2 separate regions of the Homo sapiens genome follow, and region 1 is linked to region 2. The links are contacts of gene promoters, found by promoter capture Hi-C in blood cells and fetal thymus (Javierre and others, 2016). All regions are on one chromosome and are shown on one strand. Each heading gives the region's core, a stretch centred on a gene start or on the middle of the fragment in contact. The rest is flanking DNA. Distances are from core to core; before and after follow the strand shown. Region 1 has its middle 30 kb from the start of SPNS3. Region 2 holds the start of ANKFY1 (ankyrin repeat and FYVE domain containing 1).

Region 1 (6,654 bases), core at 4,041-6,540, 140 kb before region 2:
ACCAGCCTGACCAACATGGTGAAACCCTGTCTCTACTAAAAATACAAAAATTAGCCGGGCGTGGTGGTGGGCACCTGTAATCCCAGCTACTCGGGAGGCTGAGGCAGGAGAATCGCTTGAACCCAGGAGGCAGAGATTGCAGTGAGCCAAGATCACGTCACTGCACTCCAGCCTGGGCAACAGAGCAAGACTCTGTCTCAAAAAAAAAAAAAAATTAGGCGTGGTGGTGCATGTGTGTGGTCCCAGCTACTCCTCAGGAGGGCACCACTGCACCCCAACCTGAGCAACATAGAGAGACCCTGTCTCAAAAAACACAAAAAGGCCAGGCGCAGTGGCTCATTCCTGTAATCACAGCACTTTGGGAGGCCGAGGCCAGCAGATAGCCTGAAGTCAGGAGTTCCAGACCAGCCTGGACAACAGGGAAAAACCCTGTCTTTACAAAAAAACAGCCCGGCGCGGGCTGGGTGTGGTGGCATCAGCCTGTAATCCCAGCTACTGGGGAGGCTGAGGCAGGAGAGTCGGCTTAAACCCGGAGGTGGAGGTTGCAGTGAGCCGAGATCACACCACTGCACTCCAGCCCAGGCAACAGAGCAAGACTCTGTCTCAAAAAAAAAGCCCGACAGGCGCCTGTAATCCCAGCTGCTCTGGAGGCTGAGACAGGAGAATTGCTTGAATCTGGGAGGCGGAGGTTGCAGTAAGCCGAGATTGCGCCATTGCACTCCAACCTGGGCAACAGAGCGAAACTCCATCTCAAAACAACAAACAAACAAACAAAAAACAAAACTCAGTCTAATTCTGCCCGCAGTTTTGTCCTGAGCTATTAATTATAAATGGCTTCTCTCTGCCTCAGCTTTTCTGAATTCCTTCCCTAATTCTGTCCCCATAAGCATGAGAACTTCTTCCAGCCTGGGTCCCACTAGTGGTCCTAGACAAACCCAGAAACCAGCTCCTGGGATGTGGTCTGGGCCTGGTCAAGGTTAATGGGATACAAGCTAATTATTGGGTGAGTGGGAATCATGGTCAAGGAGGGAGCCAAAGCCAGGGGCAGGCTATCAGTAGGAGTCAGGCCAGGCGCTGGGCAGGGAGTACAGAAGGTGAAGCCAGTGGTTCAGGAAGGGACACGGGAGACCAATGGAAGGGTCCTCCACCCCGCTGCCTGCAGGCATGGTCACTGCACAGAGGCTGTGGGAGGCCATGGCGTGGTCTGGCCCAAGTAGATGGACATGCATCTACATAACCCCAGTGTCCACCGACAACCAGCTGACCCCATCACTCAAAAAGAATGGCATTGATTTTCTTGACCCCAAATGCCTCTGCTGGTGGGCAGAGCCCCAGGGAGACACTGAGTTCCCAGGAAGGGAACTGAAGCCAGTGTAGCTCCTGGGATTCCCAACTGCAACCCAACCTCTCCACCCACCTTGTCTCCTGGATTCCCTCCCCTCTCCTCCCCTCTCTTTTCTCTCCCCCAATCTCCCTGCACAGCTCACTACACCCATCGCTGGGCTGGTCAAAGTTCTCCCAGGGGATCTGTTTGCAGCTAGACATATGTGTACCTGTGAGTGATCATGCATGCCCGTGGTGCACACACATCCTCTTGTGTGCTGTATGTGCCTATACACACCCATGTGTGCCTGTACATGCGTGCAGACACCCATGTATGCGCAGATGGGCACGTACACAGTGTATATATGCACTGTGTGAGCCTGTGCGTGTAAGCTCCCCTGTCCCAACTCCCCAAGCCCAGATTAGCTGCCTCTACTGGGCTGACCTTGTCCTGACAGCCCCTTGGGACTGGGGGAGCTGCAGAGCCCTCCTTGCCCTCACCAAGAAACCAGGAGGCCCAGAGCATCCCCACCTTCCTGGAGAAGGTAAGAGGGAGGAACAGGCTGAGCAAAGGTGAGAGAGGAACATGTGGCTCCTCCGGGGAGTGAGTGAGGGCAGAAGAAGGATGTCTGGGGGAAAACATGTTTAAAGAGAAAAACAGTGAGTTAGGTTTAAGAGATGTTTTACATATATATATATAAATATATAAATGTTTATATATAAAAATATACAAATGTTTATATATAGAAATACACAAATGTTTATATATAGAAATATATAAATGTTTATATATAGAAATATATAAATGTTTATATATAGAAATATATAAATGTTTATATATAGAAATATATAAATGTTTATATATATAAACATTTATAAATAAATATAAACATTTATATATATAAATATATAAATATATAAAAATAAATATATAAATATATATAAATATATACATATATACATATATAAATATATACAAATATATATGAATATATATAAATATATACAAATATATATATAAATATATATAAATGTATATATAAATATATATATATATATGTATTTTTTTTTTTTGGAGACATTATTTAGCTCTTGTCGCCCAGGCTGGAGTGCAATGGCACAATCCCGGCTCACTGCAACCCCCACCTCCCAAGTTCAAGCAATTCTCCCGCCTCAGCCTCCCAAGTAGCTGGAACTACAGGCACGTGCCACCACGCCTGGCTAATTTTTGTATTTTTAGTAAAGACAGGATTTCACCGCATTGGCCAGGCTAGTCTCGAACTCCTGACCTCAGATAATCTGCCTGCCTCGGCCTCCTAAAGTGCTGGGATTACAGGCGTGAGCCACCGTACCCGGCCAAGAGATGTTATATTTGGAGGGCTCTTGGGACATCTATGTAGGGAGAAACCTGGAGCAAACTGAGATCTTGGAGCCTTGAAACCCAGGGCAGAGGGGAACTGACCCCAGACCCCAGCTTCAGGAGTGGACACAGAACCAGGGCCTCCCCAGCGTCTGAGACTTAGATTTAGTGTGGGTTTCCCCAAAGTAGACCCTGAAACAAGGACTTGGTTGTGGATAGTTTATTTGGGAGGTAATCCAAGGAAACACAAGTAAGGCAGTGGGGAAACTGAGGCAGGGAAGAAAAGCCGATGAAGCCTGGGCAATTGGTATTTAATCTTACTCTGACCCCTCTGAGGAGTTAAGACTTGAGGGGTTCGCCCCAGAAGAGGAGAAGCCGGTCCGACCAGTAAGAGAACTGCAGAAACAGCTGGGTGCAATGGCTCATGCCTGTAATCCCAGCACTTTGGGAGGCCGAGGCGGGCGGATCACGAGGTTAGGAGATCGAGACCATCCTGGCTAACACAGTGAAACTCCGTCACTACTAAAAAAGTACAAGCCAGGCGCGGTGGTTCATGCCTGTAATCCCAACACTTTGGGAGGCCGAGGCGGGTGCATCACAAGGTCAGGAGTTCGAGACCATCCTGGCCAACATGGTGAAACCCCGTCTCTATTAAAAGTATAAAAATTAGCTGGGCGTGGTGGCAGGTGCCTGTAGTCCCAGCTACTCAGGAAGCTGAGGCAGGAGAATCGCTTGAACCCAGGAGGCGGAGCTTGCAGTGAGCCGAGATCACCCCACTGTACTCCAGCCTGGGCGACAGAGCGAGACGCCGTCTCAAGAAAAATAAATAAATAAAAAATAAAGTACAAAAAATTAGCCGGGCGTGTTGGCGGCCGCCTGTAGTGCCAGCTACTCAGGAGGCTGAGGCGAGAAGGGTGTGAACCCACAAGGTGGAGCTTGCAGTGAACCGAGATCGCGCCACTGCACTCCAGCCTGGGCGACAGAGTGACACTCCGTCTCAAAAAACAAAACAAAAAAAACAAACAACCAAAAAAAAGAGGAGCTCTCCTGAGGACTTAACGCTCTTCACAGGGTCCACGAAAATCTGGAAAAGTACATGGGATCCTAAGAGCAGGAGGCAGGACAGGGAGATTAGGATTCTGGGGAGCTGTGTCCCTCTATCCCAACTGCCCTGACAGCCCCAATTTTGATGACCTGGTTGTGGCCAGAGGAGGAGGCCTCACCACTACCAGTGCTGCAGGAACTTGGGCCTCTGGGCACTAAGCCCGTGCTAATGAGCTGGTTCTTTTTTTTTTCTAATGGCACGATCTCGGCTCACTGCAACCTCCACCTCCCGGTTTCAAGTGATTCTCCTGCCTCAGCCTCCTGAGAAGCTGTGATTACAGGCGCCCACCACCACGCCCAGCTAATTTTTGTATTTTTAGTAGAGACGAAGTTTCACCATGTTGGTTAGGCTGGTCTCGAGCTCCTGACCTCTGGTGATCCACCCACCTCAGCCTCCCAAAGTGCTGGGATTCCAGGTGCGAGCCACCACGCCCAGCTCAGTGAATTTTTCTGTATATATATGCACCTGTGTGTACTAGTTTCCTGCGGTTGATATAACAAACTATCCCAAACTTGGTGTCTTAAAACAACATAAACATGGCCGGGCACAGTGGCTCACGCCTTTCATCCCAGCACTTTGGGAGGCCGAGGCCGGCGGATCACCTGAGGATGGGAGTTCGAAATCAGCCTAACCAACATGGAGAAACCCCGTCTCTACTAAAAATACAAAATTAGCCGGGCATGGTAGCTATGGAGGCTGAGGCAGGAGAATCGCTTGGTGAGCTGAGATCGCGCCATTGCACTCCAGCCTGGGCAACAAGAGTGAAACTTGGTCTCAAAAAAAGAAAAAAACAACCAAAACCATAAACGTATTCTCTCGAATGTTTTCTCTCCTGGGGGGCAGAAGTCTGAAGTTGGTATCGCAGGACTGAAATGGAGGTGTCAGCAGGGTCATGCTGTCTTCAAGGCTCTGGGAGAGTCCCTTCCTTGCCTCTTCTAGCTGCTGGCTGCTGGCAGTCCTTGGCTTGTGTCTACTTCGCTCCAATCTCTCTCCATCTTCACATTACCTTCTCTCCTTCTGTCTTCTCAAATCTCCCTCTGCCTCTCTCTTATGGGACACCTGTGATTGCATTTAGATTCATCCGGGTCATCCAGGATAAGCTCTCCATCTCAAGATCCTTAGCTATCACATCTGCAAAGACCCTTTTCCCAGATAGGGTAACATTGACAGACTCTAGAGCAGTACTCCCCAAGCTTTGTGGCACCAGTTCCTGTTTTGTGGAAGACATATTTTTCCATGGATGGGTGACGGGTGATGCGGGGGATGGTTTCAGGAAGATTAAAGCACATTACATTGATTGTGTACTTTAATTGTATTATTATGACATTGTAATATATAATGAAATCATTATACTTCACCATAATGTAGAATCAGTGGGAGCCCTAAGCTTGTTTTCCTGCATCTAGATGGTCCCATCTGGGGGTGATGGGAGACAGTGACAGATCATCAGGCATTAGGTTCTCATGAGGAGCGCGCAACCTAGATCCCTTGCGTGCCCGGTTCACAATAGGGTTTGTGCTACTATGAGAATCTAATGGCCCCAGTGATGTGACAGGAGACAGAGCTCAGGCAGAAATGTGATCGATGGGGAGCAGCTGTAAATACAGATGAAGCTTCGCTTGCTGGCCCACCACTCCACCTACTGCTGTGAGGCCTGGTTCCTAACAGGCCAGGGACTGTTAGTGGTCCGCGGCCCAGGGACTGGGGACCCCTGCTCTAGAGTTTAGGACCCAATATAGTTGGAGTCCATTATTCAGCCTACTATACAGTGTAACCGCCACCCAGATCAAGATACAAAAGAATCTTTTGCTGAGCGCGGTGGCTTACACCTGTAATCCCAGCACTGTGGGATACCAAGGCGGGTGGATCGCCTGAGGTCAGGAGTTCAAGACCAGCCTGGCCAACATGGTGAAACCCCTAAAAATACAAAAAAAAAATTAGCCAGGCTTGGTGGCGGAAGCCTGTAATCTCAGCTACTTGGGAGGCTGAGGCAGGAGGATCGCTTGAATTTGGGAGACAGAGGTTGTGCTGAGCCAAGATCATGCCATTGCACTCCAGCCTGGGCAACAGAGTGAAACTCTGTCTCAAAAAAAAAACAACAGATTCTCTTTATCCCAGAAAGTCTCCTAGACCACGGGTAACTGCTCTTCTGACTTGTAACACCGTAAATGAAATTTTCGTCTTTTTGAACTTCATGTAAAGGCATCATACTACGTCTGTATTAATCATACTGTGTATATGTATTTCTCTCAAGGATATCTGTGAGATTCATCCACATTGTTACCTGATTCAGATCTTTTTAAAAATTTTTTCTTTTTTTTTTTTTTTTGAGACGGAGTCTTGCTCTGTCACCCAGGCTAGAGTGCAGTGGCAAGATCTCCACTCGCTGCAACCTCTGCCTCCCGGGTTCAAGCAATTCTCCTGCCTCAGCCTCTCGAGTAGCTGGGATTACAGGTGCCCGCCACCATGCCCAGCTAATTTTTGTATTTCTAGTAGAGACAGGGTTTCACCATCTTGGCCAGGCACATCTCAAAACTCCTGACCTTGGCCGGGCGCAGTGGCTCACGCCTGTAATTCCAGCACTTTGGGAGGCCGAGGCGAGGTCAGGAGATCGAGACCATCCTATCCTGGCTAACACGGTGAAACTCCGTCTCTACTAAAAATACAAAAAATTAGCCGGGCGAGGTGGCAGGCGCCTGTAGTCCCAGCTACTCGGGAGGCTGAGGCAGGAGAATGGCGTGAACCCCAGAGGGTAGAGCCTGCAGTGAGCTGAGATCGCGCCACTGCACTCCAGCCTGGGCGACAGCAAGACTCCGTCTCAAAAAACAAACAAACAAACAAAACAAAAAAAACCCTCCTGACCTTG
Region 2 (6,852 bases), core at 4,014-6,513:
TTTAGGATGCAGGTCTCAAAAGCAAGTTGTGGGACTCTTTCTGTATAAACAGCACATGATACCAAAGGAACCACAGGGAAACCTTGTATTTTACAGACTTTAAAGAAGGAACCAGAGAAGTTAACTTGCCTTCCAACCTGATAATGATGCTCTTTAGATTTCCAGTACGTGGCCATGCACCGTTTTAACTCAGAGTTTGTGTGCACTGTGATTTATAACCTTCGAGTGAGCACTTATTAGAACATTATTGGGGATTTTGTCTTTGGCCTAAACTGGCTCTACCATAAAGGTAAGCTGAAAGGTGAGGAACCCAGACTCAAATGTGAACTGGAAGAGACTGCAGGCACCATCTCAGTCACCACCTCTGTCCTCTAAACAGACGGGAAAATGCGCCAATACCTGCCCAGGGGTCATTTAGTAAGTTACTGACAAAAGAGGCAAGACTGAGTAGAGAACCTTCTTTACAAGATACACAAGATATCAACATCCAGCTTTTTATCCTGAATCCTTACAAATAGTTCATACGGAGTTAGTGTTAGATGTTGAAAGCTTGTTTGTCCTTGATATAAATCACTAGCGACTATTAAGGGCTCTTCCTTACAAACTCGGAGAAAGGAACATGGAGTCAGACCTCTTATTCAGCTAAATTATGAACAAGAAAATCCCCCGAGAGGAGTTTTGGGAAGATGAGGGATTATTTCTAGAGTGCAAATACCCGATAAATATATTTGGAATGAACTGTTGTGGAAGGGTCTAGACAATATATATCCCCAAACTTACATCAGTTTTAGACATAATCAGCTACTCAAGGTATAGAGCCAAAACGTTTTATTTGCATGCTGCTTCCAGTGCAGATGAACAGGTTTTCGATGGTGTGTGCAAGGCACGAGGCTCCCAGGAAAGATGTGGATCTCCCGCTCCCTCTCATGGGACAGGGCTAATAACCGCCTTTCAAATTGAACCCTTTCTGCCTTGAGGAGGCCCGGAACCCTCACAGGATTCAGTTCACAGATCAAATGATTTTCTGGGTATGGTATTTCTGGTGGTTCAATTTCAGATGTGTGTAATCTGGCTGCCAACGTAGGATTAGGCTTTTTGGCTTGTGGAGTTGACACTCCTCACTGAGCTTTAGCGAAATGATGAAAGAATTTTGAATTCTGTTCACACAGGTAAATAAACTGAAGGAAAAGCCTTTCACAAAAGGGAGCCAAACACATCTTCTAAGACATAGGAGCTGCACAGAAAGTCCTAGGCAAGAAACTTGATTTTTTTCCTCTTCTCGGCAGTATGCAATATTCACAGTGACTTCCATTTATTCCCAACAAGAGCGCTGGAAATCAAGTTTTTCTATTTGTTGAGCCTCTCTTCTGTGGCAAGCTTGTGCTATGTGTTTTTCCTAAAGGTTCTAGTCACATTGTTAGAAGCAGCTTCCAAGGTAATCATTTCTCATGAGGAAACAGGCTCAGGTTAACTTGCCATCGTTGCACAGCACACAAGTTGCATGGCTGGGATTCGGTTCCACCGCCTGCCTTGCATACTGGGTGTTATTAGCCCTTCTTCACAGGTGAGGAAACCAGAGCTCACAGAGCGTGGATGTGTTGAGACCGGTGCTTGACCCAATTCATCGGACTAGCACTGGAGGTGTCCTCCTCTTCCTGCCCTGCCATGATACCGCACTGCCTCCTGAGTCTGTTCCCCTGTGCTCTTGAAGCTACGGTAGACAGCATTTATTCCCTTCCTGTTCTTCATGTTCCTTGTCTGAGACAGCACCACACTAAGTCCCTCTGAATCTGACTGCAAAACCTGAAGTGGGTCTAAAATGGACCATGCTCCAGTGCTCAGCTTTTTCAAGACGTCTGTATTTCTGGTTATAGCTAATGTTATAGCTCCATCCAAACCTGGTGGGTGCTGTAGTTTACTGAGTACTATGAGTGCTTTATTTCATAGGCTTTACTACCTTCTCTCTAACTCAGGGGTTACAGGTCAGTAAGAGTCCCCTCAAAAGACAAGGGCTGGCCGGGCGTGGTGGCTCACGCCTGTAATCCCAGCACTTTGGGAGGCCGAAGTGGGTGGGTCACGAGGTCAGGAGTTCGAGACCAGCCTGGCCAATATGGTGAAACCCCCGTCTCTACTAAGAATAAACAATTAGCTGGGCGTGGTGGCGTGTGCCTGTAATCCCAGCTACTCGGGAGGCTGAGGCAGGAGAATCGCTTGGGCCCGGGAGGCGGAGGTTGCAGTGGACCAAGATCGCACCACTGCACTCCAGCCTGGGCAACAGAGCAAGACTCCATCTCAAAAAAAAAAACCAAAAAAAAAAACAACAAAAAAAACCAGACAAGGGCCCAGGGATACCGTTAAGTCATTTCTAAGATGGGTACTTTATCCTCTGGTAGAGGGCTCCTTAGAGCGAGGTTGTGATGAGGAGGCAGTCAAGCCCCCGAGTTGATCAATCCCTTCAGGCGAGTTGTTCTTTGATCATGGCCATCCAGTCCAAGCACACTGAAACGGCACACATTTGTGTGCTACTCAAACGGAGAGGGTCTCTGGTTTTCATCAAATTCTCAAAGGGGGTCATGGCCCTCCAAATCTTTAGGAACCATGGATTCTAGTCCAAGTTCTTCGTCAAATAGGTAGAATCTGAGATGCAGCATAAGGCTTGCAAGGACTTGCCCATCATCAACACAGCAAGTAGCTGCAGAGCCAAACTTGAACTCAGGTCTCTTAATTCCCAGAATAGCACACAGTGGAAACACCTCATCAAACATTTTGAGTGCCTGCTATATTCCAGACCCTAGGCTGGTGCTGCTGAGGTAACGATAGTCATCATGCAAAATCGGGAGTCAGCTGTGACAGTACTTTACAACAACTTTCATGTTGCTTTTACGTTATGGCCCAGGCAATATTCGCAGGGTACTCCACCATAAAAAGATGAGGCTGCTTGCATCCAGAGGAGCCTGGCCTGCCTGGCCACTCTGAAGGCCCCAAAGACTCACCATTGGGCACCCCTATAAACCATTCTCAACAGACAGGGACGCTTTAAGCGATGGCCTTCCCATGGTAGGGAAAGTTCTCCCCTACCATCTTCGTGCCTTTCGTCTCCTGCCACAACAAAAAGGCTTACACGTTTCAACACCGTCTCTCATCTCCCAGGTACCTGGCAGCCAGAATTCCTACTCTTCCTCAAAAATTCAGTGCTTGACTCTATGTTCCCACGATCTAAGCTCCAAATTCCTCCTCCACTCCACCTCACTACCCACTAATGCTTATCCTTAACAGCACCTAAAGCTTCTCCAACTTTAAATCCTCCTTTTCGTTTCTGACACTCTTATTCTGTTCTCAGATTCTTCTTTTTAAATTTCTTTTCTTTTTCTTATTTAATTTTAGAGACAGAGTCTTGCTCTGTCACCCAGGCTGCAGTGCAGCGGCAGGATAGAGCTCACTGCAGTCCCAAACTCCTGGACTCAAGCAATTCTCCAGCCTCAGCCTCAGCCTCCCAAGTAGCGACAACTAAAAGCCTGCACCACCAGGTATAGCTAATTCAGATCCTTCCTTCCAACCTTTTGTCTCTTACTCCTGGCTGTCCTCCAAGGCCACCACTTTCCCTGCAATCCTGAACTATTGATGCATTCTTTTGATTCTCCCTTGAGTAAAAGTCTTTTTTGAAAGGTCTCATGCTGGGCCGGGCATGGTGGCTCATGCTTGTAATTTCAGTACTTTGCGAGGTTGGGGTGGGAGGACTGCTTGAGACTAGGAGTTCAAGACCAACCTGGCCAACAGAGACTCCATCTCTGAAAAAAAAAAAAAACAAAAAACAAGAAAGGTCTCATGCTATTCAGCTATGTTACTGTTTAGCCCTCCATTTTGCAATTGTCTTAACTAATCGTATAGTCCTCCCCACATTCACCAAAGATTTTAGCTCCTGATGCTCCTTTCCTTTCCTACCTCTAAATCCCAACATCTAATTTTCCTGCCTTCTCACTTCCACTTCAGCCACTCTATTCCGTGGCTCTGTCCTGGACTTTTTTTTTTTTTTTTTGAGACAGAGTCTCACTCTGTTGCCCAGGCTGGAGTGCAGTGGCACAATCTTGGCTCACTGCAACCTCTGCCTCCCGGGTTCAAGCGATTCTACTGCCCCAGCCTCCCGAGTAGCTGGGATTACAGGCATGCACCACCACGCCCGGCTAATTTCTGTATTTTTAGTAGAGACGGGGTTTCACCATGTTGGCCAGGCTGGTCTTGAGCTCTAGACTTCAGGTGATTCACCCTCCTCGGCCTCCCAAAGTGCTGGGATTACAGGCGTGAGCCACCACGCCCGGCCTGTCCTGGACTTTTCTCATCTCCTAGTGCTACTTCACTATGAACCTGTTTGCCACTTTAACCACCAAGCTCTCACAACATTGCCTGCACTGCACTGGCCTTCAATTATCAGAGACCTGCAGTTTCGTGGCTCCTCCATCAGTCCCTAGCCAGTCTGTATCCCACGTTTGATGGCCTGGGCTGTCGTCTCATAGCACCCTCAATTTATTTTGGGCAATGCAATCCCAAGCCCTGGATAAATGCTATAATTCAAAATATCTGCTACTGCAGCCTGGTGGCTGAGTTCTAGAAAAAAGTGATCCATCAACACATACATGAGGCACATGAAACCAGGCCTTCCAACTTCAGCGTCCTCTTCCAAAGTTTCTTTGCTCTTCTTGGTCTCCTTCCTTGTCTCATAACTTCACCCATAAAATCGATGTCATCAAACGATCTCCCTGATTTTCTTCCCCCCTATATATCTGCACGCATGTTCTTGTTTCCTACCGTTTTAGTGGAATAACAGGTGACCTGCCTCTAGTCTAAATTTAATCCGTTTTCCTGAGTTCTGCATCGCATGCAGAGCATCCTACCTCCCCAGGGACCTCTCCACTGACTCCTTTCTCCCAGCCTCTCCTTTCTTTACAAACCTAAGGACCAACAAACCCCCTCTCTCGACCCTCTCATTGCCAAGCTTCTCCAGAGTAGTCTGCATTCGTTGTGTCATCCTTTTCGGTGCCCTGCCAAGGACGTGGAATATGACAGGGCTCAGTCAGTGCTTAATAAATCTCGAGCCTCAAAAATACCCGGTAAAAAGAAACCCGGCTCTCCGCTTCCCCCAGAGTCCAGCAACCCCCTCCGCTTTCATTCACCCACTTTCCTACCCTCGGCTCCGCCTTTTGCCGCGCCTCCCGCGATTCTCGCGAGACTTGGTGATTCCGTTCCGCACCGCCCCGGTTGAGCCGCGCACTTCTCGCGAGGTTGCAGGCAGTGCCGGGCCAGACATGGCGGAAGGTAGGGTTTTTTTGTGGAGCCGCGCGGGAAGACACGGAGCTGTGGGGGCGCTGCTGGCCGTGCGAAGCTGCCGTGGGAGGGGAAGGCCGGGCGTGGTTGCATGGGGGCTCCGCGGGTCTCGCGAGCCTTCCTGTCTAGCCTCTCCGGAGCTTCTCGGGCCGGGGTCCGGAGCGCGGTTCCTATGACAACGTCCCTCCCGCGATGCCGACCCCGCGGGACTGCGGCCGGCTGCGGAGCCGGGCTGGCAGGTCCCGCGCCGGTGCTGCGTGCAGCCGCGGGGCCCCGAGGGCAGCACGGGAGGCTCTTGATTGCCGGCGGTGCCGGGACGCCGGGGGAAGTAAGCCTTCTCCTTAGGAAATCGAAACTGCTGTCCTGGCACGTTCTGCATCCGGAAGGGGTCCATCCCTCGCTTGCGGAAGAGCGTGGGTCTCCTCGGGCTGGGTTGGGGTGAGGTGGGGTGGGGTGGGGGCGAGGCAGCAGCGAGCTGGCCCACGCTTCAGGCGGGCGCACTGGCGGCTCCGGCTCTGCTGCAACCCCAGCCTTCAGGCCAGGCGTACAGATGAAGACGGGAGGAAGGGGTTTGCGGGAAGGGAGTTGGCCAAGGTCACACTGCTCACAAGAGGGCTGCTCAAACCAGACCTCTGTGCCTTTGCCTCCCCGTCCAGTGCCTACCCTCTGGTCTCGTGCACTTTTCATGACATTGCAGCTTAAGGCACTCTGGTCTCTCAGAGTCTGCCTGTCTTAATGTAGCAGTAATTAGAAGCCTTCATTGTCAAAGCCTTATTGTACACGTAGGGGGAAAGAAGGCCCAGAGACGGGGAGTTACCTGTCAGGAATCGTGCAGGGACATTGTTGGATCTGGGCAGCCTGGTTCTCCTCTTCACCCCATTATTGGAGAACAGTATTCCTTATTTGACCTTTGTTTATTGAGTGACTGCAGTGTGCTTGGCCACGACCTTTCCTGTTGGTTTTGAGCTTTGACTGAACCCATCACTTGATGGATCTTAGATTTGGGCAGCACCTGACAGTTGGTCGGCTTTTCTCATTTGCATTAGACTTCAGATAACCTCGTGAAGGAGGCCTGGCGTGTGTATTTGCCTTTATTGATAAAGGAATTTAGGCAAAGTTACAGAGATAGCTGTGACTGACACCCAGTTGGTTTTGGGGGGTGTGTGTGTGTGTTTTGAGATAGGGTCTCGCTCTGTCCCACCGGCTGGAGTACAGTGGCGCGGTCACGGCTCACTGTAGCTTCAGTCTCCTGGGCTCAAGCGATCCTTCTGCCTCAGCCTCCTGAGTAGCTGGGACCAGGGGCGCTCGCCACCACACCCGGCTAATTAAAAAGGGGTGTGTGTGTGTGTAGACAAGGTCTTGGCCCCGTGTGGTGGCTCGCGCTAGTAATTTCAGCACTTTGGGAGGCCGAGGTGGGAGGATCGCTTGAGGCCAGGAGTTCAAGAGCAGCCTGGGCAACATGGCGAAACCTCGTATCTACAAAAAATACGAAAGTTAGCCAGGTGTGGTGGCACGTGTCTGTAATTCCAGGTA

Evidence for each region. Contacts are between HindIII fragments. The CHiCAGO score rates a contact against its expected background, and 5 or more counts as called.
Region 1: a fragment that was not itself captured here is called in contact with the fragment with the promoter of ANKFY1 in region 2 in 1 of 17 cell types (naive B cells); the score reaches 5.8 in naive B cells.

What each region holds. Positions count from the first base shown.
Region 1 is chr17:4,400,388-4,407,041 of GRCh38, reverse strand. No RefSeq gene overlaps it. Among named protein-coding and RNA genes, the nearest start is that of SPNS3, 30 kb to the left of the region's middle. The HindIII fragment of the contact is 226 bases long and covers 5,178-5,403 here.
Region 2 is chr17:4,262,390-4,269,241 of GRCh38, reverse strand. ANKFY1 (ankyrin repeat and FYVE domain containing 1) reads left to right here and starts at 5,263. Exons shown (of 25, transcript NM_001330063.2): 1 at 5,263-5,310. The coding sequence starts at 5,301. RefSeq lists an enhancer at 5,077-5,166 and a silencer at 5,817-5,966. The HindIII fragment of the contact is 3,100 bases long and covers 4,993-6,852 here.